Linked DNA regions of Homo sapiens: region 2 is linked to region 1. Evidence: promoter capture Hi-C in human tissues and cell types (Jung and others, 2019). All regions are on one chromosome and are shown on one strand. Each heading gives the region's core, a stretch centred on a gene start or on the middle of the fragment in contact. The rest is flanking DNA. Distances are from core to core; before and after follow the strand shown.

Region 1 (3,761 bases), core at 228-2,727:
GGGATTACAGACACCTGCTACCATACCCGGCTAATTTTTGTATTTTAAGTAGTGACGGGGTTTCACCATGTTGGTCAGGCTGGTCTCGAACTCCTAACCTCAAGTGATCTACCCACTTCGGCCTCCCAAAGGGCTAGGATTACAGGCGTGAGCCACCACGCCCGGCTTTTTTTTTTTTTTTTTTTTTTTTTTTTTTTGTGAGACAGTCTCACTCTGTAATCCAGACTGGATTGCAAGGGGCGTGATCTCGGCTCACTGCAATTTCTGCCTCCCGGGTCCAGGTTCAAGCAATTCTCCTGCCTCAGGCTCCCGAGTAGCTGGGATTAAAGGCGTGCGCCACCACACCCAGCTAATTTTTGTATTTTCAGTAGAGACCGGGTTTCACTATGTTGGCCAGGCTGGTCTCGAACTCCTGACCCTGAGTGATCCACCCGCCTTGGCCTCCCCAAAAGCTGGGATTACAGCCCTGAGCCACGGCGCCCGGCCTGTTTTTTTGTTGTTGTTGTTTTGTTTTTAATAAAAGAGGCGGGGTCTCACCCCGTTGCCCAGGTTGGTCCAGAACTCCCGGGCTCAGGCGACCCTCCCCTCTGCGGGCCAGGCCACCGCGCCCGCCGCCTCGGGTGTTTTCTTAGGAAAGCTGTGCGGTGGCTGGACTCAAAAACCCCGAACCTAAATCTGCCCGCAGACGGACACCAGCTTCCTCTTACCTCAAGCAAAAGGGCATTCAGGTCCTGATGGCTTCGCAGGAGGCGCACAGCTGATTCCTTTAATTTCTGTGCCCTTTCAGGATTATATTTTTCCCTCTTGACCCTTCCCGCTACGGAGAGAAGTCGGTTCGAAACCATCACAGCACAATTCACACACGGGGTCCCCGGCCCGACGCGCAGGTGGACGCCGCGGAGAAACCCACCAGCGACACCCTCCCGAAGAGGGGCCGGGGCTCCTCCCCAGGGCGCAGGTCTCGGGAAACTAACGGAGACGGCCCCACCGCGGACGCCGGGGAAGACGGCCCAGGAGGGCCCGAGGCAGGGGAGCCCGGGGACGGCTGGCGAGGGGCGGCCTCTGCGCTGAGGGGAGCCCCAGGCCGCGCACCCCAGGCCCGCCTGACAGGGCGGCCGGCGGGGGCGGCGTTCGGGAAAGAAGGGAGCGCCCCGCGGGCGGCGGCTGGGGGCGTCCGCCCAGGCGCAGGAGGGGCCGGGTCCGAGGCAGCCGCGCCGCCCCAGCCGGGCGCCCACCCCGCACAGCCCCCCGGGCGCGGCGTCCGGGGATCCGACCGGCGGAGGCTCTGGCGGGAAGGGATCGGGGAACCGGCGAAACCGTCCCGGGCCGGACGCCGCCCACTCCCGCGGCCTGCCGCGCCCACCTACCCAGCAGCTCGGCCCAGGCCCTCCGGCGGCCCCCTGGGTCCTGGCCCGAGGCGGAGTTCGGGACCCACGAGTCGGACATGGCCTTGGCGCCTACAGCCCCGGCGGCGGCTCCCTGCGCCCGAGCCCGCGCTGCCTTCCTATTGGCTGCGGCCAGGCGCGCACACCCGTTGGCTGGCGGCGGCCAGGCCACGCCCCTCAGGTCGAGGCCTTGCGTCGTGGCCATGTTGGTCCTGGGGGAGGCGCCTGCGCGCGGTGAGGTAGTTTTTGCGTTTGGCTTTGCCGCCGCGGTGTAGTCCGCGGGGGCGTCTCGCGCGGGCAGACTGCCGCCCCTCAAGCGTGGTTCCTGCCGGGAATGACTGGGGTTGGTCCTGAAGAGACCACCTGGCCAACCAAGCCGAGGCAGGCTCAGAGCGCCGCGGGGAGCGCAAAGCCGCGCGCGCCTCTGAGCTCCGGGCAGCCGCTGTTCCTCCCGGCGGCCGAACGGTCCGCGCGCAGGGCGGTGTTTCGGCAGCCGGAGACCGCGCGGTAGCCGCGCCTGTATTCCCAGCGCTTTGGGAGGCCGAGGCTGGAGGGTCGCTTGAGCCCAGGAATTCCAGACTAGCCTGGGCAACAGAGCGAGACCCCATCACTTTTGTTTCTTTTCTTTTTTTTTTTTTTCCTTTTTTTGAGACGGAGTCTCCCTCTGTCGCCCAGGCTGGAGTGCAGTGGCGCGATCTCGGCTCACTGCAACGTCTGCCTCCTGGGTTCAGGTGATTCTCCTGCCTCAGCCTCCCGAGTAGCTGGGATTGCAGGTGCGCGCCACCACGCCTGGATGATTTTTGTTATTTTTAGTAGAGACAGCGTTTCGCCATGTTGGCCCAGGCTAGTCTCGAACTCCGGACCTCAGGTGATCCGCCCGCCTCGGCCTCCCAAAGTGCTGGGATTACAGGCGTGAGCCACCGCACCCGGCTGAGACCCTATCTTTTAACCAGCCTGGGCGGCAGAGCGAGACTCTGTCTCAAAACAAAACCAAACATAAGAATTCGTAAAAGCGAGTGCCTAGGCGAAGCTAATGTGCCTCAAAGTCCTGGGTAAGTAGAGGCCCTGGAGACCCGTCCGCATCCTCTGGCAGTGGCCTTGGAACCACCGAAGGGATTCAGCCGAAGGGCCGCGTTCCCGGCAGGCGTCTTTATTGTGTTGATTACGTAGATGGCGTAGATGACGTAGATGACGTTCAGCACCACAAACGAAGAGCCGAGGCACAGAGTGGGGCCTTGGATTCATGAGATGGGGATGGAGCAGAAATGAGAATTCGGAGTCCATGAAACCCCCACAAAGACTCCTGCACGGCCCGACTCGGACACTTTGCAATCTGCTGGTTGAGGGGGATGGTGTGAACTCAGGGAACAGCCTGAGATCGCGCCGCTGCACTCCAGCCTGGGCAACAGAGCAAGACCCTGTTTCAAAAACAAAAAATAACACTAAGCAATTAACAGGACTAGACTCAGAGGTGATCGAGAAATTGAAACAGGCTGGAAATTTAAATTAACTGTGATTAATATGTGGAGGTCTCTTGTACGAAAGGTGAACAATATGCATGAGGAGGAAACTCATCAAATTATAAGAAAGGAAGAACGCTGATAACAGGTAATTTTTCTGATGGGGCAGCAGTAGGATCAACACAGCTGAGAAAAATAGGAATTACCCACGTTGGAAAATAAAGAAGAAAAAAAGTTTTTTTTTAAAAAAAGCATCCAAGAACTGTGGGAAAATATCAAATGATATCATATGCATGTAATAGGACTCCCAAAAGAAGAAGAAAGAACAAATCATAAAAAATGTTTGAAGAGAAAATTACCAATAATTTTCCCAAAATAATGAAAGACCTGAGCTCAGAGCACACACAAAACTTGATAAATATGAGCCCCTGCCTGACACATGCAGTGTATTCAAACTGTGGAAATCAGAGAGAAAACCATGAAGATGGCCGGAGGAAAAAGATACGTTAAATACAGTAACAAAGGTAAGAATTCCAGCCTGGGCAATATGGCAAGACCTCGTCTCTACAAAAAATACAAAATTTTTTTTTTGTATTTTTTGTATTGCCCAGTGTGGTGACACGAGCCTGTAGTCCTGTGGGCGGAGAATTACCCAGGTGCCGAGGCAAGAGACCGAAGGCACAAACTATTTCAGTATAATAAAATCGTTACAATAAGAACAGTCATAATACAAATTATGGAGATGATCATGGACAATTATCAATTATTATAAACATTAATCATTAGCTTTTAATATTACTGTTTGTTGCATTACTAATATAACCTAGGAATAACCGGTGGGTATAGGGTCAGGTGCTGAAAGGACATTGTGAGAAGTGAGTGGAAGGCAAGAGGTGAACCTTCTGTCATGCCCGCA
Region 2 (3,951 bases), core at 1,437-3,936, 310 kb before region 1:
CCCACTGGCTTTGCAACCTCGTCTGTAGTGGTGGAGTGAGTGCAGGTCCAGAAACAAACCAGACCGGCCTTGAAATTCTGCCCTAACTTCAGAGCTGTAATCCTAGGCAGGTTACTTTTAATACTTCTGAATCTTTCTTTACATGTAAAATAGAGGTATTGTATTCGCTGCACAGGGTTGTGAATATTACATGGGTGTTCGACACGGAGCTAGGCACTCGGTGATGTTGGCTGTCGTCACTGGCATTCACTGTTACGAATTTGCGGAGTACAGAAAAGCATAAAAATAAATAGGTCACCCTCATCCTACCTCTGTGACAGACCATCTAGTCTTTGCTTTTCCTACTCAACAAGCTTTCCAGCTCTTGGCGTCAGCTCTAGACCTAAGGCGGACGGAGGAAGGGGTCGGGGTGGCGGAGGACCCCGCGCGCCTGGGAGCCCACGAGGGACCCTGCCCGGGCCCGGAGGGCGGACCCTGAAGAGAACAGAGCCTCTTCCTAAGCTTCCAGACGGCGCCTCCCCGCTTCCTACGATGGGCTCGCGCAGCGGCCGGGGCAGGACCGAGGCTCGAAGCGCCTCCGAGGTGAGCCAGTCCGAAGGCACAGGACGGAGCGCTCCGAAGTCAGAGGTGTGCGGGACGAGCTCTGCAGACGCCTGCCAGGCCGCGCCGCACTGCGCGCTCCCTCCCTCACGACCCTCCTCCTCCGGGGCTGCCCTCCCTGCGGCGGCTGCAACTTCAGTCCTCGTCCTCGGGCGGCTCAAGACGCAGGAAAACCGCCCCCTTCCTGCGCTCCTCACACCCGAAGGGGCCCTCCCGACCCGAGGCCTCCGGCGCCGCCCTCCTGAGCGCGGGCCTCTACTCGCAGGCGGGATTCCGGCCCGCACCATCCGCCCTCGCCTGTGACCGAACCCTGCGGGTGACGCAGGCTGCCCGGGCGTGAGGCCCCTCGGCGCGGGCGGAGCACGACCACGCAGCCACGACCCGGCCGGTTATTCACCCGCCAGGCCCTGGGAATACAAGGCCGGCTTCAAAAAAACCAGGGCACCCGCGACCTCCTCGCAGACGCGCGCCCCCATACCCGGGCCTCAGGCAGCCACGAGGTAGACGGGCTCAGGCTCGGGGGTGCGGCAAGCGGCACCCGGGCGCGGCGGGGCGCAGCTGTGGGGACCGCGCAGGCGCCACGTCAGACCCCGCCCACCCCGCCGCGCAGGCGCCGTGTAGCGCCCCGCGGATCACGCAGGCGCGGCTTTCAGGCCAACATGGCCGTGCTGCTGCTGCTGCTCCGTGCCCTCCGCCGGGGTCCAGGCCCGGGTCCTCGGCCGCTGTGGGGCCCAGGCCCGGCCTGGAGTCCAGGGTTCCCCGCCAGGCCCGGGAGGGGGCGGCCGTACATGGCCAGCAGGCCTCCGGGGGACCTCGCCGAGGCTGGAGGCCGAGCTCTGCAGGTAAATCCCCGCGGAGTCCGGGCCCCACCTCCCGCCCGGCTCTGCTCTGTAAGGCCCAGCCCGGCGGGGCGGGTCGGAGGCCGCCTGGCCCCTGCGGCGGGGGAGCCTGCGCCTGTGGGCCCGCGGATCCCCCAGCTGTGGACCTCGGCGCGGAGCGACTGTTGGGGCCCTGGATCGTGGGCGCTGGGCGGGCCGGGAAGAGGCAGGGCTGGGATCCGCGCAGTCCTCGGCGTGGACTTTCCCAACCCGTCTGTTGTGTGTGGATGTTCTCCGCCCGTCTTCCTCGCCTTTTAAAGTGGAATCCAGTAACGGTTTCCGGCGTAGCACTAATTTACAGTCCACGCCTGTGGATCGATTCCGTCACCAGGAATTCCAGCGCCTTCCAGTTAGGGTGGTTATTGCCGAGTAGGGGGCCCAGAACGTTTCTGTGTCCGCAAAATACCCTGTAGCTGCATTTTGCTGTTGTCATGTAGCTCGGCACGTTATTGATACAGTCATTGAGCACCCCCTGTAGTGCGGCCTTGTTTCAGGTTCTGCTAAGGATAGGATAGCATCTCCTCCCGAAAACCAGACCTTGTGTCCTTCAGCTTTTGGGCTGATGTTTTTTTCTCCTAGCCCTCGCCTAGGAGCTTAGCCCACACCTTTTAGGTTGTTGTTTTTTCGGTTATTTTTGAGACAGAGATCTCGCTCTGTCGCCCAGGCTGGAGTGCAATGGTCTTGGCTCACTGCAACCTCCGCCTCCCGGGTTCAAGCGATTCTCCTGCCTCAGCCTCCTGAGTAGCTGGGATTACGGGTGCGCGCCACCACACCCAGCTAATTTTTGTATTTTTAGTAGAGACGGGGTTTCACCATGTTGGCCAGGATGGTCTCCATCTCTTGACCTTGTGATCCGCCTGCCTCGGCCTCCCAAAGTGCTGGGATTACAGGGCGTGAGCCACCGCGCCCGGCCATAAAACATATTTAAATGGGAAAATGTTTATCTTGAAAGGAGAACTCTGAAAGTATATACTTGTTAACTGGTTTGGTACCTGGAAATGTTCTACAAGGAGCCACTCTCTGGTGACAGCAGGAGCCCCGTGTCTGGGCAGCCACTGTGGCCTTTGGAGAGCTGGGCTGCTCCCTTTCTCCTGCAGAAGCTTCAGGCCATGGGATAGCAGCCAATGTACTTCTGTGTTTTGTTTTCTTCTTTTTTTTTTTTTTTTTTTTTTGTGACAATCTCGCTGTGTCGCCCAGGCTGGAGTGCAGTGGCCTGATCATGGCTCCCTGAAGCCTCTGCCTCCTGGGCCCAAGCAATCCTCCCACCTCAGCCTCCCAAAGTGCTGGGATTACAGACATGAGCCACCGTGCCTGGCCACTATCGTGATTTTTTGTTTGTTTATTTGTTTGTTTTTTGAGATGGAGTTTCCCTTTGTTGCCCAGCCTGGAGTGCAGTGGTGCTATCTCGGCTTACTGCAACCTCTGCCTCCCGGGTTCAAGCGATTCTCCTGCCTCAGCTTCCTGAGTAGCTGAGATTACAGGTGTGCACCACCACGCCCGGCTAATTTTTGTATTTTTAGTAGAGATGAGGTTTCACCATGTTGGCCAGGCTGGTCTCAAACTCCTGACTTCATGTGATCCACCCGCCTCAGCCTCCCAAAGTGTTGGGATTACAGCCGTGAGCCACCACGCCTGGCCAATTACTGTGTTTTAACCTGTTTACTTGCTTTTGACATTTTGATGTTACCTAAAGCTTTGACCTATTGCTCAGACTATTACTTTATATTTCAGGGCAATGTAGATATTACAAATAATTATATATTTGAACTTTTAAAAACGATTTTTAGTCTGCATTGCTTTGGTACTCTCTAATGTTGGTGTGACCTCCAGTATTGTTTTTTTTTTTTTTTCAGAGCTTACAATTGAGACTGCTAACCCCTACCTTTGAAGGGATCAACGGATTGTTGTTGAAACAACATTTAGTTCAGAATCCAGTCAGACTCTGGCAACTTTTAGGTATGTATCTGTTTAAAGAAGCAGCTGAGCATGACTGCACACTTACCGCCTCAGCTACTTGGGAGGCTGATCTTTTTTTATTTTAGAGACGGGATCTCGCCCTGTTGCACGGGCTGGAGTGCAGTACAATGGTGTGATCAGAGCTCACTACAGCCTAGAACTCCTGGGCTCAAGGGATCCTCCCCACTTTGCTTCCGGAGTAGCTAGGACTACAGGCGTGTACCGTCACACTCGGCTAATTGTTTTTTGTAGAGACAAGGTCTCACTTTGTTGTCCAGGCCCAAAGGGGCCTCTTTACTCCCTTATCCCCCAGTTGCAGAGCCTTGACCTCTTAGGCTGGAGTGATCCTCCCACCTCAGCCTTCCATAGAGCCAGGACTCCAGGCACACACCAAAGCGCCTAGCTAATTTTTGGGGGGTATTTTTTGTGGAGATGGGGTTTTGCCACGTTTCCCAGGCTGGTCTTAAACTCCTGGACTCAAGCGATCAGCCTGCCTTGGCCTCCCAAAGTGTTGAGA

The links. Contacts are between HindIII fragments. The study calls those that stand out against the background at their distance.
Region 2: a fragment that was not itself captured here is called in contact with the fragment with the promoter of FANCA in region 1 in 1 of the 25 tissues and cell types used here (aorta).

What each region holds. Positions count from the first base shown.
Region 1 is chr16:89,815,170-89,818,930 of GRCh38, forward strand. FANCA (FA complementation group A) reads right to left here and starts at 1,478. Exons shown (of 43, transcript NM_000135.4): 1 at 1,368-1,478; 2 at 708-817. The coding sequence starts at 1,446. RefSeq lists silencers at 982-1,031, 1,262-1,551 and enhancers at 1,412-1,706, 2,092-2,141. The HindIII fragment of the contact is 15,845 bases long and covers 1-3,761 here.
Region 2 is chr16:89,507,159-89,511,109 of GRCh38, forward strand. It overlaps SPG7 (SPG7 matrix AAA peptidase subunit, paraplegin), which reads left to right and starts at 1,245. Exons shown (of 17, transcript NM_003119.4): 1 at 1,245-1,442; 2 at 3,332-3,434. The coding sequence starts at 1,260. LOC101927863 (a long non-coding RNA gene) reads right to left here and starts at 1,162. Exons shown (of 5, transcript NR_188547.1): 1 at 1,079-1,162. RefSeq lists silencers at 559-628, 749-958, 1,029-1,588, 1,619-1,738. The HindIII fragment of the contact is 4,518 bases long and covers 428-3,951 here.